Linked DNA regions of Homo sapiens: region 2 is linked to region 1. The links are contacts of gene promoters, found by promoter capture Hi-C in blood cells and fetal thymus (Javierre and others, 2016). All regions are on one chromosome and are shown on one strand. Each heading gives the region's core, a stretch centred on a gene start or on the middle of the fragment in contact. The rest is flanking DNA. Distances are from core to core; before and after follow the strand shown.

What was found. The method cuts DNA at HindIII sites, captures the fragments that hold promoters and counts their contacts. A CHiCAGO score of 5 or more calls a contact.
Region 2: the fragment with the promoter of UPRT here is called in contact with the fragment with the promoter of PIN4 in region 1 in 2 of 17 cell types (total B cells and total CD8 T cells); the score reaches 7.4 in total B cells.

Annotation. Positions count from the first base shown.
Region 1 is chrX:72,177,760-72,185,297 of GRCh38, reverse strand. It overlaps PIN4 (peptidylprolyl cis/trans isomerase, NIMA-interacting 4), which reads right to left and starts at 3,541. Exons shown (of 4, transcript NM_006223.4): 1 at 3,470-3,541. The coding sequence starts at 3,512. RefSeq lists an enhancer at 3,282-3,501. The HindIII fragment of the contact is 4,711 bases long and covers 3,523-7,538 here.
Region 2 is chrX:75,271,511-75,279,048 of GRCh38, reverse strand. UPRT (uracil phosphoribosyltransferase homolog) reads right to left here and starts at 4,964. Exons shown (of 7, transcript NM_145052.4): 1 at 4,409-4,964. The coding sequence starts at 4,794. LOC124905200 (a long non-coding RNA gene) reads left to right here and starts at 5,013. Exons shown (of 4, transcript XR_007068269.1): 1 at 5,013-5,571. RefSeq lists enhancers at 4,584-4,793, 4,954-5,003, 5,024-5,073. The HindIII fragment of the contact is 1,552 bases long and covers 3,873-5,424 here.

The sequences.
Region 1 (7,538 bases), core at 2,292-4,791:
TCTGAGGTGGGAGTGCACTCAGATGAGCCTGCCTGAGGGAGGTAGCTGAGGGTCAGGGCATTGAGGCCTTTTGGCCCCATTAAGGAGCTTGGGACTTATCCTAGACGTAATAGGGAGCCATTGAAAAGTTGTTTTTTTTTTTTTTTTTTTGAGACGGAGTCTCGCTCTGTCTGTCGCCCAGGCTGGAGTGCAGTGGCGCGATTTCGGCTCACTGCAAGCTCCGCCTCCCGGGTTCATGCCATTCTCCTGCCTCAGCCTCCCGAGTAGCTGGGACTACAGGCGCCTGCCACCACGCCCCGCTAATTTTTTTTGTATTTTTAGTAGAGACAGGGTTTCACCCTGTTAGCCAGGATGGTCTCGATCTCCTGACCTCGTGATCTGCGAGCCTCGGCCTCCCAAAGTGCTGGGATTACAGGCGTGAGCCACCGCGCCTGGCCGCCATTGAAAAGTTTTAAGCAAGAGTCTCCATCTTGCTTGTCTTAGTATCTCCAAGCCTAGCACAATGCCTGGCACACAAAAGGTGTTTTAATAAATGTTTGATTAAACTGAAAACCCCAAATACTGACTACCAAAACCCTAAAAAAATGTTACTGCCAAAGGAGTGTTATTAAATCAAACTCCTAACTGGGTTTGCTATAGATCCATTCTTGAATGATGATGCCTTCCAGTTATCCCATCCTCTTCCCTGCTGGATGCTGTCATCTTCTGACTGCCACCTCACTGCCTTTGATTTCCTGACGACTCTGGCATCAGCTTTGGGCTTCCTCTCCACCCTCACTCCTGCCATTACCTTGAGTGACCTCACCATCTATCTTGGGGAATCTCAGTTCTAGGTCTCTTTCCCGAATGTCATGCTCTCTACTCCAAGCTACCTGCCCCGGGGGCACACGATGGAACTGTGCCACTCAGAACTAGTTCAGTCTCTGGCTATAACCTCCTGTTCTTCCAGCTTCCTCATGTCTCATTCCCACAATACTTGCTCTTTAACTTCACAGAACCTCTCCCTTGACCCCAGTCCCTTCGTCCTGCTACATTCACCTAGGCCACCAGACTTCTTTTTCCCTTCCCACTCTGGACCCCATGTTCCTTCATCTGAACTGCATTCCCACTGGCCCTTGTAATTCCCTGGTGTTGCTATCCTCCTATCATAACTGCCTAACAAAACCTCAACCATGGCTTAAGGCTGCACCTAGCTCTTTTCAATCCTATATTGTGCCAATTGCATAGTACTAGGTAAATCAGACTGTGAAGATTATGTAGTCTACAAATTCATGGCCTTTGATCTTAGTCAGGCTCCTAGCCCTGAAGGCACTTCTTTTGTGTTTCATTCCCTCTTCCATTACGATATTCCAGACCTTTACCACTCTCCTCAAGATGCCTACTGAGTCCCTGCCCCTCCATCTCCTTTCCTATGACCTCAAGCATAAGGTGTCCCTGCTCCCCCTAGGTCCTGGATTCCATTTTCTCCTAAATCTCACTCTTCTGTACCTTTACCTCTTTTACTTTACTGGATCCTTCAGCTTCACTCCCAAGTTTTCCCCATTCCAAAGAAGCAAAGAAAATAAAACTTTCTCTTAATCCTCTGTCCTTCTCTATCTACCATCCCATTTCCATGCTTTTCAATTAAAACTTTCCAAGAAGTCCAAATTACCACTTCCCAGTCAGTTCTCTAGTCACGGTAATCTGGCTTCTGTTTCACTGAAACCACTTTTACCCAAGGCCACCTCTAATTTCCAAATCTGCTGTTCTTGATAGACTATACCCTCTCTCTTTAAAACATTCTGGTCTCTCCAGCCTCTGGCCACCATTCTGCACTCCCTCTATCTGTCTGCCTCTTTCTCTGCCTGTCCTAGGATCACATCCTCTGCTCTCTGCTCTTTTCATTCTATAAACTCTCCATGGATAATTGCATACACTCTAATGGGCTCAACTACCATCTATAAGTTAGCGACTCCTAAAACTTACATGTACAGTCTAGACCTCTCCCTCAAACTTTAGACTCAAATATCCAACCACTTCCTGACTACATCTCCACTGAGATGTCCCACAGACACCTCAAAGCCAATCTATCTGAAAGTGAATTCATCAATCTCATCCCCGCTCCTCATGTATCCTTGATGTTACCCTGCAGGACCAGCAACAGGTTAGAAATCCAATCCAGAAAACAGAATGATCGTTGATCCTCCCTCACCACCCCTCCCCAACCCAATAAATCACCAAGTCTTGACTATTTCACATCCTAATATTTACAGAATCTTTTCTCTTTTCTCAGTTCCCACAGCCACTCCCTTAGGTCAGTCCACCATCATCTCTCACCAAGACTACCACAACAATCTCCTTACAGGTCTTTCTGATCCTTAACTGTCCTTCTTAGCAGAATATATAGCACTCTCCATGATCTCGTCTTTGTTTCTGTTTTCATTCTCACCACTTGCCATTCTGCCTTGAGTTTTTGCTCCAGCAACACTACGCTGCACACATCATGCTGTTTCTCACCTCAGTGCTTTTGCTGCTGGACCCCAAGTAAGGAATGCTTTAACCTACCCTCAATGCACATCTTGACCTGCCTAATTCATCTCCAGGAAGTCTTCCGTTCCCTGTTCCCCAGCTAAATGAAGGACTTCCCTCAATTTCTATTATATCCCATACACATCCCTCAACACTACATTTAGTACAGTGCTTTATGATCACTAAGCCTTTATCTTCCTCACTACTTCGGGAGCTCCTTAAGGCCAAAATCTCTTTTTTTTTTTTGAGACAGAGGCTCGCTCTGTCGCCCAGGCTGGAGTGCAGTGGCGCGATCTCGGTTCATTGCAACCTCTGCCTCCCGAGTTCAAGCGATTCTCCTGCCTCAGCCTCCCGAGTAGCTGGGATTACGGGCGCGCACCACCACCACGCCTGGCGAATTTTTGTATTTTTAGTAGAGACGGGGTTTCGCCATGTTGGCCAAGCTGGTCTCGAACTCCTGACCTCGTGATCCATCCTCCCTCGGCCTCCCAAAGTGCTGGGATTATAGGCGTGAGCCACCGCGCCCAGCCTTCTGTCTTATTTGTGTATCCTCAGCGCTTAGCACTCTGCCTGACACATTTCTGTTCAATGGATGAATGATTCCTTCCCCGATGGTGGGCATGTCATTCTGTAAGCATTAAAGTGAACTTTAAGGACCATAACCAATGTGTACTTCCTATTGCTGGCTTTTGATAAGACCCAATTTTAGAGCTCTAATAACCCCTTGAAATAGCAGCCCTAAGTCATCGCCTCCGAGGAACTATCCCCATCAGATTCCATTACCCACTAGGACGGTCCCTGAACCGTAGCCCAATGTATTCCTACAGATGTAATCGATGGCAGCACTGTGGGGCCACTGGCTACCTGCTGCGTCCGTCCCGGACTCCGGAGATGGACTGTCTGTTCCCTCCCTTCGCTCCTCACCCGCCCCCATTCTCCTTGATCGCTCTGGCCGCTCTACCTTTCCCCGCTTTTCCAGAACCACTTTTTCCTTTGGGCGGCATCTTGGAAGCTTGTTGTTGAACGCTGAACCGCTCCAGTTGCCGTACAAGCCCCTTTAGAAGCCCCGCCATGGGCATGTCCTAAACAAATGCCTGAAAGCCGCATCTCAATTGACCGTTCTTATTGCGGCTCCGGAAGCAGGCACAGCTTGGGGCAGACCCCGTCCTTTGGCTCTTGGACCAATGGGGCTGAAGATGTCTGACCAATAAGACGCTTGGGCCGAAACAAAGGCAGAGGGGCGGAGACAAAGGCCGGATTAGGGCGGGAAGCCTGGCCTCTGCGCTTTTTGTGACTTCTTTCACGCACCCTAATTTGCACCAGATCCCCCACTCCCCACACTCTACGCCCGAAGCTCCCCCGTTCCCCTCAACCTGGCTTTTTTCACGCGTGCGCAGTAGGAGCCACGGGGGTGGGTGGCTCTGCAGTCCCTCGGCGCCAGCTCTGGCCAATCCCGCGGGGCCGCCAGACAAAGGGAAGCAGGAGTACTGTGGTGGCGGCCAACTTCCGCTGTCTCCTCCTACACACAGGGCTGCCCTCCCTGGCAGTTTTTCGTTTGTTAATTTTATTCTGCAGTTGTAGCTAATTAGGTTCAAAAGGTAGTTTTTAAAAAAGCCTGTCACCTTTTTGCGTCTTGCAGAGCTCAGTCATGGAGAAACATTGGAAGCAGTCTGAGTGCTCCTCAGTCGGGTACTGCTTAAATAATGTTTTAGCCACACAAGAAGATATTATACAACATTCAAAATAACGATTGTAAGGCTGTGTGTACAGATAGGGGAAATGTTTTTAAGACCAAGATAAAGAATATGATTCCTTGTAAAAGAAGTATATGTAATGTATTGTATGTTATATGAATATAAAGGAGAGGAAAGCTATAGAGCAAGATGTGGCCAGTGGTGCTAGTGCATACAGGTCATCGTGTTTGTTTCTGTGTATTTTCCAAAATTTCCATAATGGTGCAGCATAGTGTAGTAAAAGCATGGATTCTGGAGCCAGATTGCCCAGTTTCAAATCCCTGCTCCACATCTGTCTACTAGCTCCATGACCTTGAGGAAGTTACTTCACCTCTCTTTGGCTCAGTTTCATCATCTGTGAAATGGAGTTGATGATAATAGTACCTACTATTATCCTATCAGGTGTTAAGAGAATTAAACAAGTTCATATCTGTAAAGCACATAAAATGATGGCTTGCTCATATTAATAATGTTTGCCTAAGATAAATGATTTTTGAATTTGTGCCCACACACTTTTTCTCCCCTTACAATCCCTCCCACCATCAATAATTTGTATATGATATGTCAGGGCGTTTCCTCCAGTCCATGAGAGAGCTGTCCTAGCTTGCCACTACCAGCCAGAATATAGAGGTCTTCCAGCTCAGAGTTTAGTTTTTGGATGCAGCCTTGCTGGACCTGGAGATGCTTCATGCTCATACCAGGGAATCAGGTGTTTCTGAGACTGTGCTCATTCCCTACTCAAGACATAACATGGAGCCCTCTTATGTTTGGCTGCTTTAAATTCTGGACACATTTTGGGCACTCCTTGTTTTCGGATTGGGAGTGATCAACTGCGGAGGACACATCTAGTGGTGAGGGGATCATTGCTCTGCCACTTCTGAAGTGGATCCCGCACCTGTACTAATTCTCCAAGTTCGGCTGCGAGATGGAGGGGCGGGGGAGTTGGGATTGGGTGTTGACGATGACAGCGTAGCCTTGTGTTCATCAGGTTATCTATGGCCAAGAGGCCCAAGAGGAACATTTACTTTTGATTTTTCTTTCTTTTTTTTTTTTTTTTATTTTTTATTTTTTATTTTTTTTTTTTATTGATCATTCTTGGGTGTTTCTCGCAGAGGGGGATTTGGCAGGGTCATAGGACAATAGTGGAGGGAAGGTCAGCAGATAAACAAGTGAACAAAGGTCTCTGGTTTTCCTAGGCAGAGGACCCTGCGGCCTTCCGCAGTGTTTGTGTCCCTGGGTACTTAAGATTAGGGAGTGGTGATGACTCTTAACGAGCATGCTGCCTTCAAGCATCTGTTTAACAAAGCACATCTTGCACCGCCCTTAATCCATTTAACCCTGAGTGGACACAGCACATGTTTCAGAGAGCACAGGGTTGGGGATAAGGTCACAGATCAACAGGATCCCAAGGCAGAAGAATTTTTCTTAGTACAGAACAAAATGAAAAGTCTCCCATGTCTACTTCTATCCACACAGACCCGGCAACCATCTGATTTCTCAATTTTTTCCCCACCCTTCCCGCCTTTCTATTCCACAAAACCGCCATTGTCATCATGGCCCATCCCCAATGAGCCGCTGGGCACATCTCCCATACGGGGTCGTGGCCGGGCAGAGGGGCTCCTCACTTCCCAGTAGGGGCGGCCGGGCAGAAGCGCCCCTCACCTCCCGGATGGGGCGGCTGGCCGGGCGGGGGGCTGACCCCCCCACCATCCTCCCGGACGGGGCGGCTGGCCAGGCAGAGGGGCTCCTCACTTCCCAGTAGGGGCGGCCGGGCAGAGGCGCCCCTCACCTCCCGGACGGGGCGGCCGGCCGGGCGGGGGGCTGACCCCCCCACCTCCCTCCCGGACAGGGCGGCTGGCCGACCCCCCCCCCGCCTCCCTCCCGGACGGGGCGGCTGGCCGGGCAGAGGGGCTCCTCACTTCCCAGTAGGGGCGGCTGGGCAGAGGCGCCCCTCACCTCCCGGACGGGGCGGCTGGCCAGGCGGGGGGCTGATCCCCCCACCTCCCTCCCGGACGGGGCGGCTGGCCGGGCGGGGGGCTGACCCCCCCCACCTCCCTCCCGGACGGGGCGGCTGGCCAGGTGGGGGGCTGACCCCCCACCTCCCTCCCGGATGGGGCGGCTGGCCAGGCGGGGGGCTGACCCCCCCACCTCCCTCCCGGACGGGGCGGCTGGCCGGGCGGGGGGCTGATCCCCCCACCTCCCTCCCGGACTGGGCGGCTGGCCGGGCGGGGGGCTGACCCCCCCCACCTCCCTCCCGGACGGGGTGGCTGCCGGGCGGAGACGCTCCTCACTTCCCAGACGGGGTGGCTGCCAGACGGAGGGGCTCCTCACTTCTCAGACGGGGCGGTTGCCAGGCAGAGGGTTTCCTCACTTCTCAGACGGGGCGGCCGGGCAGAGACGCTCTTCACCTCCCAGACAGGGTTGCGGCCAGCAGAGGCGCTCCTCACATCCCAGACAGGGCGGCGGGGCAGAGGTGCTCCCCACATCTCAGACGATGGGCGGCCGGGCAGAGACGCTCCTCACTTCCTAGATGGGATGGCGGCGGGGAAGAGGCGCTCCTCGCTTCCTAGATGGGATGGCGGCCGGGCAGAGACGCTCCTCACTTTCCAGACTGGGCAGCCAGGCAGAGAGGCTCCTCATATCCCAGACGATGGGTGGCCAAGCAGAGACGCTCCTCACTTCCCAGACGGGGTGGCGGCTGGGCAGAGGCTGCAATCTCGGCACTTTGGGGGGCCAAGGCAGGCGGCTGGGAGGTGGAGGCTGTAGCGAGCCGAGATCACGCCACTGCACTCCAGCCTGGGCACCACTGAGCACTGAGTGAACGAGACTCCGTCCGCAATCCCGGCACCCCGGGAGGCCGAGGCTGGCGGATCACTCGCGGCTAGGAGCTGGAGACCAGCCCGGCCAACACAGCAAAACCCCGTCTCCACCAAAAAAAAAACGAAAACCAGTCAGGCGTGGCGGCGTGCGCCTGCAATCGCAGGCACTCAGCAGGCTGAGGCAGGAGAATCAGGCAGGGAGGCTGCAGTGAGCCGAGATGGCAGCAGCACCGTCCAGCCTTGGCTCGGCATCAGAGGGAGACCCTACTTTTGATTTTTCGTTGGGAAGAGCCTTTCCTGTGACCACTGGCTATGGCAGTTGTGAAGTAGGAATGAAGCAAACTAGAGTTCCGATCCCAATGAACAGCCAATGTCTGTCAATGGCTGATGTGCCTAGCAAATGCTTAGTGCCTGGAACACTGTGAGAGCTCTGTGCATTCCAGCAGATAATAACAGCAACAATGATAATAAGCCTGTG
Region 2 (7,538 bases), core at 3,715-6,214, 3.1 Mb before region 1:
AAACAACTGCTAAGGATGGGAGTCAGGAACTTGTATTTTAAAAAAAGAGAGAGAGACTCCACAGGCAATTCTGATGCACACAGCTTTGGTTAAGGACAATACATTACTTAGTCACATAACTCAAATCACATTAGATTGCACTCACATTAGGGTTACACAGGATGTTCATTCACCCTAAGGATAATTTTCTCCCCTCCAGGTGACTAAAGAGAGTCACAAGGCTGAATGTGCTCCTTTTTTTGTCCTATGTCACATACTGACATACTCTAACATTGCTAAACTTTTAAACAAGCAGCTTGCTGAGGCCATGCCAAAGCCCCACCTAGGACAAATACACAGGAAGCATTCAACAGCTCACACAACAGCTTTAATGTTTCAGGAAACAAAAAATAAAAAACAAAAAACTGGACAGGGAGGATGATCTTTTAAATACACTGCATTGCCTTTAAATATGAGGTCATGAACTATATTCACAGGAAAAGCACATTACTCAGATTTTGCTGAGTTTAGTATATAAAGGAGGCAGAAGAGAAGGATGTGTGGTTTAATCCATTGCAACAACAACAAAACGACATAAATGAAGAAATTTTTTCTTATCCCAAGTTCACCAGCAACCCACATACGTATGGCTGAGCAAATAATCTACTCAGTGTTTACTGCACTTTCAAAGAGAGAAATTTATTTCCTTGAAATTCAATAATACAACCAACATATTATGTTTCAAATATTGCACATTTCAAAATCTAAAAAGACATTTTAAATCAATACAGACAATGTTCTCAATCTTGCCTGTTTCACATATATACAACAACATGCAGTCCTGCTGGCTCAATCCCGATTTCCCCATACCAAAGTCAATTCACAAAGCAATCCCTTCACTATATAGATGCTAAGGACCAGAAACAATAAAAGAAAAAATATGTACTCCAGTGGCTTCTATTATCGGACAGTTCCACAGTGCACATTTATGCTGTCACATCAAAATAGAGAAGAGAATAAGCCCCAAAGAGAACAGGGTATGATAACTGATGGCACCTTCCATAACTAGACCTATGTAAATATAGCTCCTCTTACCATAGGCACCTTAAACCAGCCTCCTAGAGGGGCTAAAACAGGTCTTGTGAGAGAGGATGACAATTTTTTAAAGATAAAGGGAATATAAAGCCTCTAATTTGGTTAACAAAAACAAAACTAAAAACAATGTCCCCAGCCTAAATAAGCAGCAATACATTACTAAAAATTGTGGTGGGTCTTTCCATACTATATCAAAACAAGATAAAAATTATCTACAATATCCCAGTATTCATTTTCAAGATAAAAAAGTGAATTCCACATAGAGTTAAATTCATTTTACTGTCTTCTGACAAATCAAGAAGACAGCACTTATGAATGCAATTAGAAGCATGCACAAATCCAAACATGAGGCTTGAAATTCCTTAAATGTGAACAGCTCTTCACAGTTCATAATGAATATTCATGAACAGTATCTTGTTTTAGCCTCCCAGGGGCTCCATGTGATATTTACCAACATCTTCATTTTACAAATGATAAAGGTGAAGCACAGAGATGCTAAACATATTGCCTAAATCACTTCTCTGGATCCTGCTGTCTCCTTCCAAACTTAGAGGAAAAAAAAAAAAGGATTCCACTTACACCCAGGTTTACTACATAACCCAGGTTTTTCTGACTAATGACATATAATCAGGTATTATTTTGTCATATGTGAATGCTAAATGCCATTCCCTCTCCAAGCGCTATAGCAAGGGCACTTCACCTTTACATTATCATGACACTTTGTGAAATCTAAAAAACTAAGGAATCCTCACCCTCTAAAAAAAAAGGCACATATGTGAATGTTCATAGCAGCATTATTCATAATAGCCAAAGAGTGGTAAACCACCCAAATGTTCACCAACTGATGGATAAACAAATTGTGGTATATTCATATAATGGAGTATCATTTAATCATAAAAAGGAAAGATCCCACACGGATGAACCTTGAAAACATGCTAAATGAAATGAGTCACAAAATGACCACATATTGTATGATAATGAAATGTCCAGAATAGACATTTTTTATATGTAATGTGCAGAATGGGCAAACCATTAGAAATAGAAAGTAGATTAATGATTGTCTAGGGCTTTGGGTGGGTTGGGTGAAAATGGGGAGTGACTGTTTAATGGGCATGAGGTTTCTTGCTGGGGTGATGACAAATGTTCTAAAACTGTGGTGATGAATGCACAGCTGTGAACATACTTAAAACCACTGAATTATACACTTTAAATTCTTGAACTGTATGGTCTGTGAATTATATCTCAATAAAGATGTTATTTAAAAACAACTATTAAAAATCTTCATATGAGTAAAATTTCCCAGTTAATTTATGAGGGTTTGTTAAAGCCCTGAACCCATCTACTGGTACGAGGGAGTCGAAGACCCAAGCGTAGTAACTTCTGCTCTATAGAAACAAGAATCATCATCTATTTTTCTTTGTTGTATATGTAAGATTTATTTTGGCTGCCCCTACCCTACCACAACTACAGCAAACCTATGCCTCCTATTTTTTAGGATCACTATTTTGTCTATTAGATAACATAACCACAGTAGTTTTCAATATTGATTCATTAAAAAGAGTAAAATAGTATAGTTTCATAAATATAATTTTAAGAGCTACAAAAAAACTCTAGTAATTGAGCATCTATTATTTGCAAGGCATGGCCGGCATTCAAAAATGTAAAAGATTTCTGCCTTCAAGATGTCATAGGCAGGATAAGATCTATACAAAAATAACAATATACGAAAAAGAAGGTGAATCTTGCATTAAAAAGACCAGGGAAGATAAGCCAGGAATAATGATTAAAGGGAAGCTTCTTGGCAGAGGTGGACAATTATTTAATGCTGTGTTTCACCCTGAAGAATAAGTATCCTGAACGTACATAAAGGAGACACAGGGAATTCCAGATGAGAGCAGAAACAGATATGTTTCAGAATTGTTCCTAGGAACTATGAAGAAGGGCCTTCATCCCAAGCTAAGGGGGCCAGGCATGGTGGCTCACACCTGTAATCCCAACATTTTAGGAGGCCGAGGCACGAGGATTGCTTGAGGCCAGGAGTTCAAGACCATCGTGGACAATATAGCAAGACCTCCATCTCTACAAAAAAATAAAAAATTAGCCGGGGGGCAGTGCCATGTCCCTGTAGTCCCAGCTACTCAGGAGGCTAAGGCAGGAGGATTACTTGAGCCCAGAAGTATGAGGGTACAGTAAGCTGTGATCTCACCACTGCACTCCAGCCTGGGTGACAGAGAAAGATCCTGTCTCAAAAATATCAATCAAGCTAAGGATCCTGGACTTTATTTGGTAGGCTCTGAGAAGCCAAAGAAGGTTGCTGAGTAGGGCAATTACTGAATCAAAGATGTATGTTATGAAGATTGATTGTACAGTAATGTATGGGTGCATGTGGAAGAGAGGAAAAACTGCAAGCAGAGAAACAGTATTATTACAATAGTGTAAGACAAGGTTTCTAGAGTCTGGTTTAGGGAGTGGCATCTGTCATTCAGTAGCCATTTTTAAAAGATCAAGGCATGTCCCCCCAACCCCTGCCACTAAAAAAGGGGTGTTTTGATATGCTGCTCATTTAAAGTGCTGCCAATAAAGAAAATAGCTGTAGTTCATCATGGTACATATTTCCCTGGAGAAAACCCATTTACAACGTAGGTTTAGAAATTTCAAAATTACATTTTAACATGAAGTTCTGGCTACATTGGTTTGTGGGATTAGGAAGGGCCAAAGGCTCCTTTAGGCTCCCTTTGATCCATTAACTATGTTCTGTGAGTTTACAGTGAAAAATGATAAGAGTTGGACGATAAGCTTTCATGTGATCAAGTAAACCTGAACTCCAAGACTAAAAGACCTTGTTTGCAGTAGCAAATACTAAAGGGTCAGGGCCTGAATAGAATTTCCTTGAAATTGCTTTATTTCTATTTATGAACCTGAGGTGATTGGTGGTAGTGCATAACCTTGGATAGTAACCATTTCTGGGTTATAGGTTTACCATGTGGACAAGCACTGCCCACATAGTATAGGGGAGTTTACCTGCCTGGAATGGCCAAGGAGTTGTCTTTCCTGGGAGAGACAAAGAGCCCAGAGGCTACCTAAAGTCTTCCTCCCCACCCAAAGTGATGTTAGACACCGGAACTTGGAAAGAGAAGGTTGGCGTTCGAGTTACACGACACACACACACACACACACACACACACACACACACACACACCAAATAAAAGGTCTTACCCCAATCTCCAAAGTTTGCCAAGGCCAAGAACACTGTCTCTTAGCCCTTTTACTTCCAATCCCCGCCCACAGCCTGCAAGACCCTCCACTTCCCTTTCCCCTTCCGCTCTTGGCTTACTTGTCACGGATGATGGTCTGTAGCTCCCGTATCTGATCATTCATAGGCAGCAGCTTAAGCTGCGCCCCGATCTGCCGGGAGAGTTCGCAGTCCTCTAGGAAGGAGTTGCCAGCTGGTGCGTCATAGCTGCTACTGTCACCACTACCACTGTTGCCCTCTGAGTTGAGGCTGGAGCCGCCGCAGGCCCCAGAGTCCAGCTCGGCCGGCAGGCTAGAATGGGCGTACCCCGTGAGGAGAATCACCTTGGCCCTGGAGGCTCTGTTTCCCCCTGCGTGGTCCAGGATCAGATCGCCAGGTCGCAGCTGCTCGGGACTTGGGGTTGAGGCAGAGTTTACTTGCTGGTTGTGACAGGGCATGGAGTCCGGACACTGTAACTCCGTGGCCATACACCGGGCCCCGGGCTATCCCCGCTGCTACTGAACACTAAAGATAAAGAGGAACGGGTAGAAAGGACAGATGCTCACGTGCTCTCTCGGTTGCTCCCGCCTCCTCAGAACATCTAACCCTGGCTGTCCTTTCACCCCTAGGCCGCTGTTGGTTTCCTTTAGCACACTTTGGCTCACTCCCGCCCACACCAGACGTACTGCCTGCCTAGACACCCTATTGGCTGCACTCCCCGCCACTCTGCGGCGCCACTGCTTGTTAACCCTTTGAGTCACCCTTGCTACGTGGGTTCCCACAGGTAGCTAAGCCCCCGCAGCGAGGCCAAGGATGCCAGCTTGAAGGATCTTCCGGGGGCCCCTGGGGCTTCTGCATTCAGAACTTTGGGTGATTAGTAGAGCCAGGAAAAACTGGGGGTGGCAGGTGATGATACACAGTTACACACGTAAGGCCCATGTTTTCAGACTTTGTGACCTAGCAGAGAAATTATATCTCAGTAACCGCATCTTCAGTTAGCTTGTCTGCATAACAGAAGGAAGAAGTAAAAAAATGCCTAGCAGGCTGCTGAAGAGGCTGTCCTCTACTAGACTGTTCTAGAAACTGCAGCTTCCCAAGTATGCTTGACCGCCAAAGCTTTTCTTATCTTTATTGGTTGGGCCCCACAGTGTACACGTTGTCATGGGGACTCAGGCGGCATTTCAGATCCACTATCATTTTGAATCTTTAAAGTACTTGGAAAGACGCTTATTTTTAAGTGTATGGACTCACTATAACGGCCTGAGGTAAGAGTGTCTAGGGCAGTACTTTTCAAACATCAGTATGTACCACAATAATTGTAGAGCTTGTTAAAATGCAGGTTCTTACGGCTCATTTTTGAGATTGTGATTCTGTAGATCCGAGATGGGATACAAGAATCTTTTTTTTTTTTTAACTTTTAAGTTCAGGGATATATGTGCAGGTTTGTTACATAGGTTAACTTCTGTCATGGGGGCTTGTTGTAAAGATTATTTCATCGCCCAGGTATTAAGCCTAGTACCCACTAGTTGTCTTTCCTGATCCTCTCCCTTCTCACACCATGCACTCTGCAGTAGGCTCCAGTGTGTGTTGTTCCCCACTATGTGTCCATGTGTTCTCATCATTTAGCTCCCACTTATAAGTGAGAACATGCAGCATTTGGTTTTCTGTTCTTGTGTTAGTTTGCTAAGGATAATAGGCTCCAGCTCCATCCATGTCCCTGCAAAGGACATGATCTCATTATTTTTTATGGTTGCATAGTATTCCATGGTGTATATGTACCACATTTTCTTTATCCATTCTATCATTAATGGGTAGTTAGGTTGATTCCATGTCTTTGTTATTGTAAATAGTGCTGGAGTTAACATATGTGTGCATGTGTCTTTAATAAAACAATAATTTATGTTCCTTTGGGTATATACCCAGTAATGGGATTGCTGAGTTGAATGGTATTTCTGTCCTTCCTTTTTTTAACATGCCTATACAGATTTTTTTATAATTTTTTTTTTATTTCCATAGGTTATTGGGGAACAGGTGCTGTTTGGTTAGATGAGTAAGTTCTTTAGTGGTGATTTGAGAGATTTTGGTGCATCCATCACTCGAGCAGTATACACTGTACCCTATTTGTAGTCTTTTATCTCTCAAGCCCTTCCCACCCTTTTCCTCCAAGACCCCAAAGTTCATTGTATCATTCATATGCCTTTGTATCCATCATAGCTAAGCTCCCACTTATGAGTGAGAACATACAATGTTTGGTTTTCCATTCCTGAGTTACTTCACTTAGAATATTAGTCTCCAATCTCATCCAGGTCGCTGCAAAAGCCATTAATTCATTCCTTTTTATGGCTGAGTAGTATTCCATATATATATACATATATATATATACACATATATATATGTGTATATATATATATACATATATATGTATATATACACATATATATACACATATATATGTGTATATATATATATATCTCACAGCTTCTTTATCCACTCATTGATTGATGGACATTTGGGTTGGTTCCACGTTTTTGCAATTGCGAATTATGCTGCTATAAACATGCGTGTGCAACTATCTTTTCTGTATAATGACTTCTTTTCCTCTGGGTAGATACCCAGTAATGGGATTGCTGGATGAAATGGTAGTTCTACTTTTAGTTCTTTAAGGAATCTCCACACTGTTTCCATTAGTTGACATTCCTACCAGCAGTGTAGCAGTGTTCCCTGTTTGCCACATCCATGCCAACATCTACTATTTTTTAATTTCTTTGATTATGGCCATTCTTGCAAGAGTAAGGTGGTATTAAATTGTGGTTTTAATTTGCATCTCTCTGATAATTAGTGATGTTGAGCATTTTTTAATACATTTCTTGGCCATTTGTATATCTTCTTTTGAGAATTGTCTATTCATGTCCTTAGCCCACTTTTTGATGGGATTGTTTGTTTTTGTCTTTCTGATTTGAGTTCCTCGTACATCCTGGATATTAGTCCTTTGTCAGATGTATAGATTGTGAAGATTTTCTCCCACTGTATGGGTTGTCTGTTTACTCTGCTGACTGTTCCTTTTGCTGTGCAAAAGCTCTTTAGTTTAATTAAGTCCCAGCTATTTATCTTTGTTTTTATTGCATTTGCTTTTGTGTTCCTGGTCATGAAATCTTTGGCTAAGCCAATGTCTATAAGGGTTTTTCCAAAGTTATCTTCTAGAATTTTTATAGTTTCAGGTCTTAGATTTCAG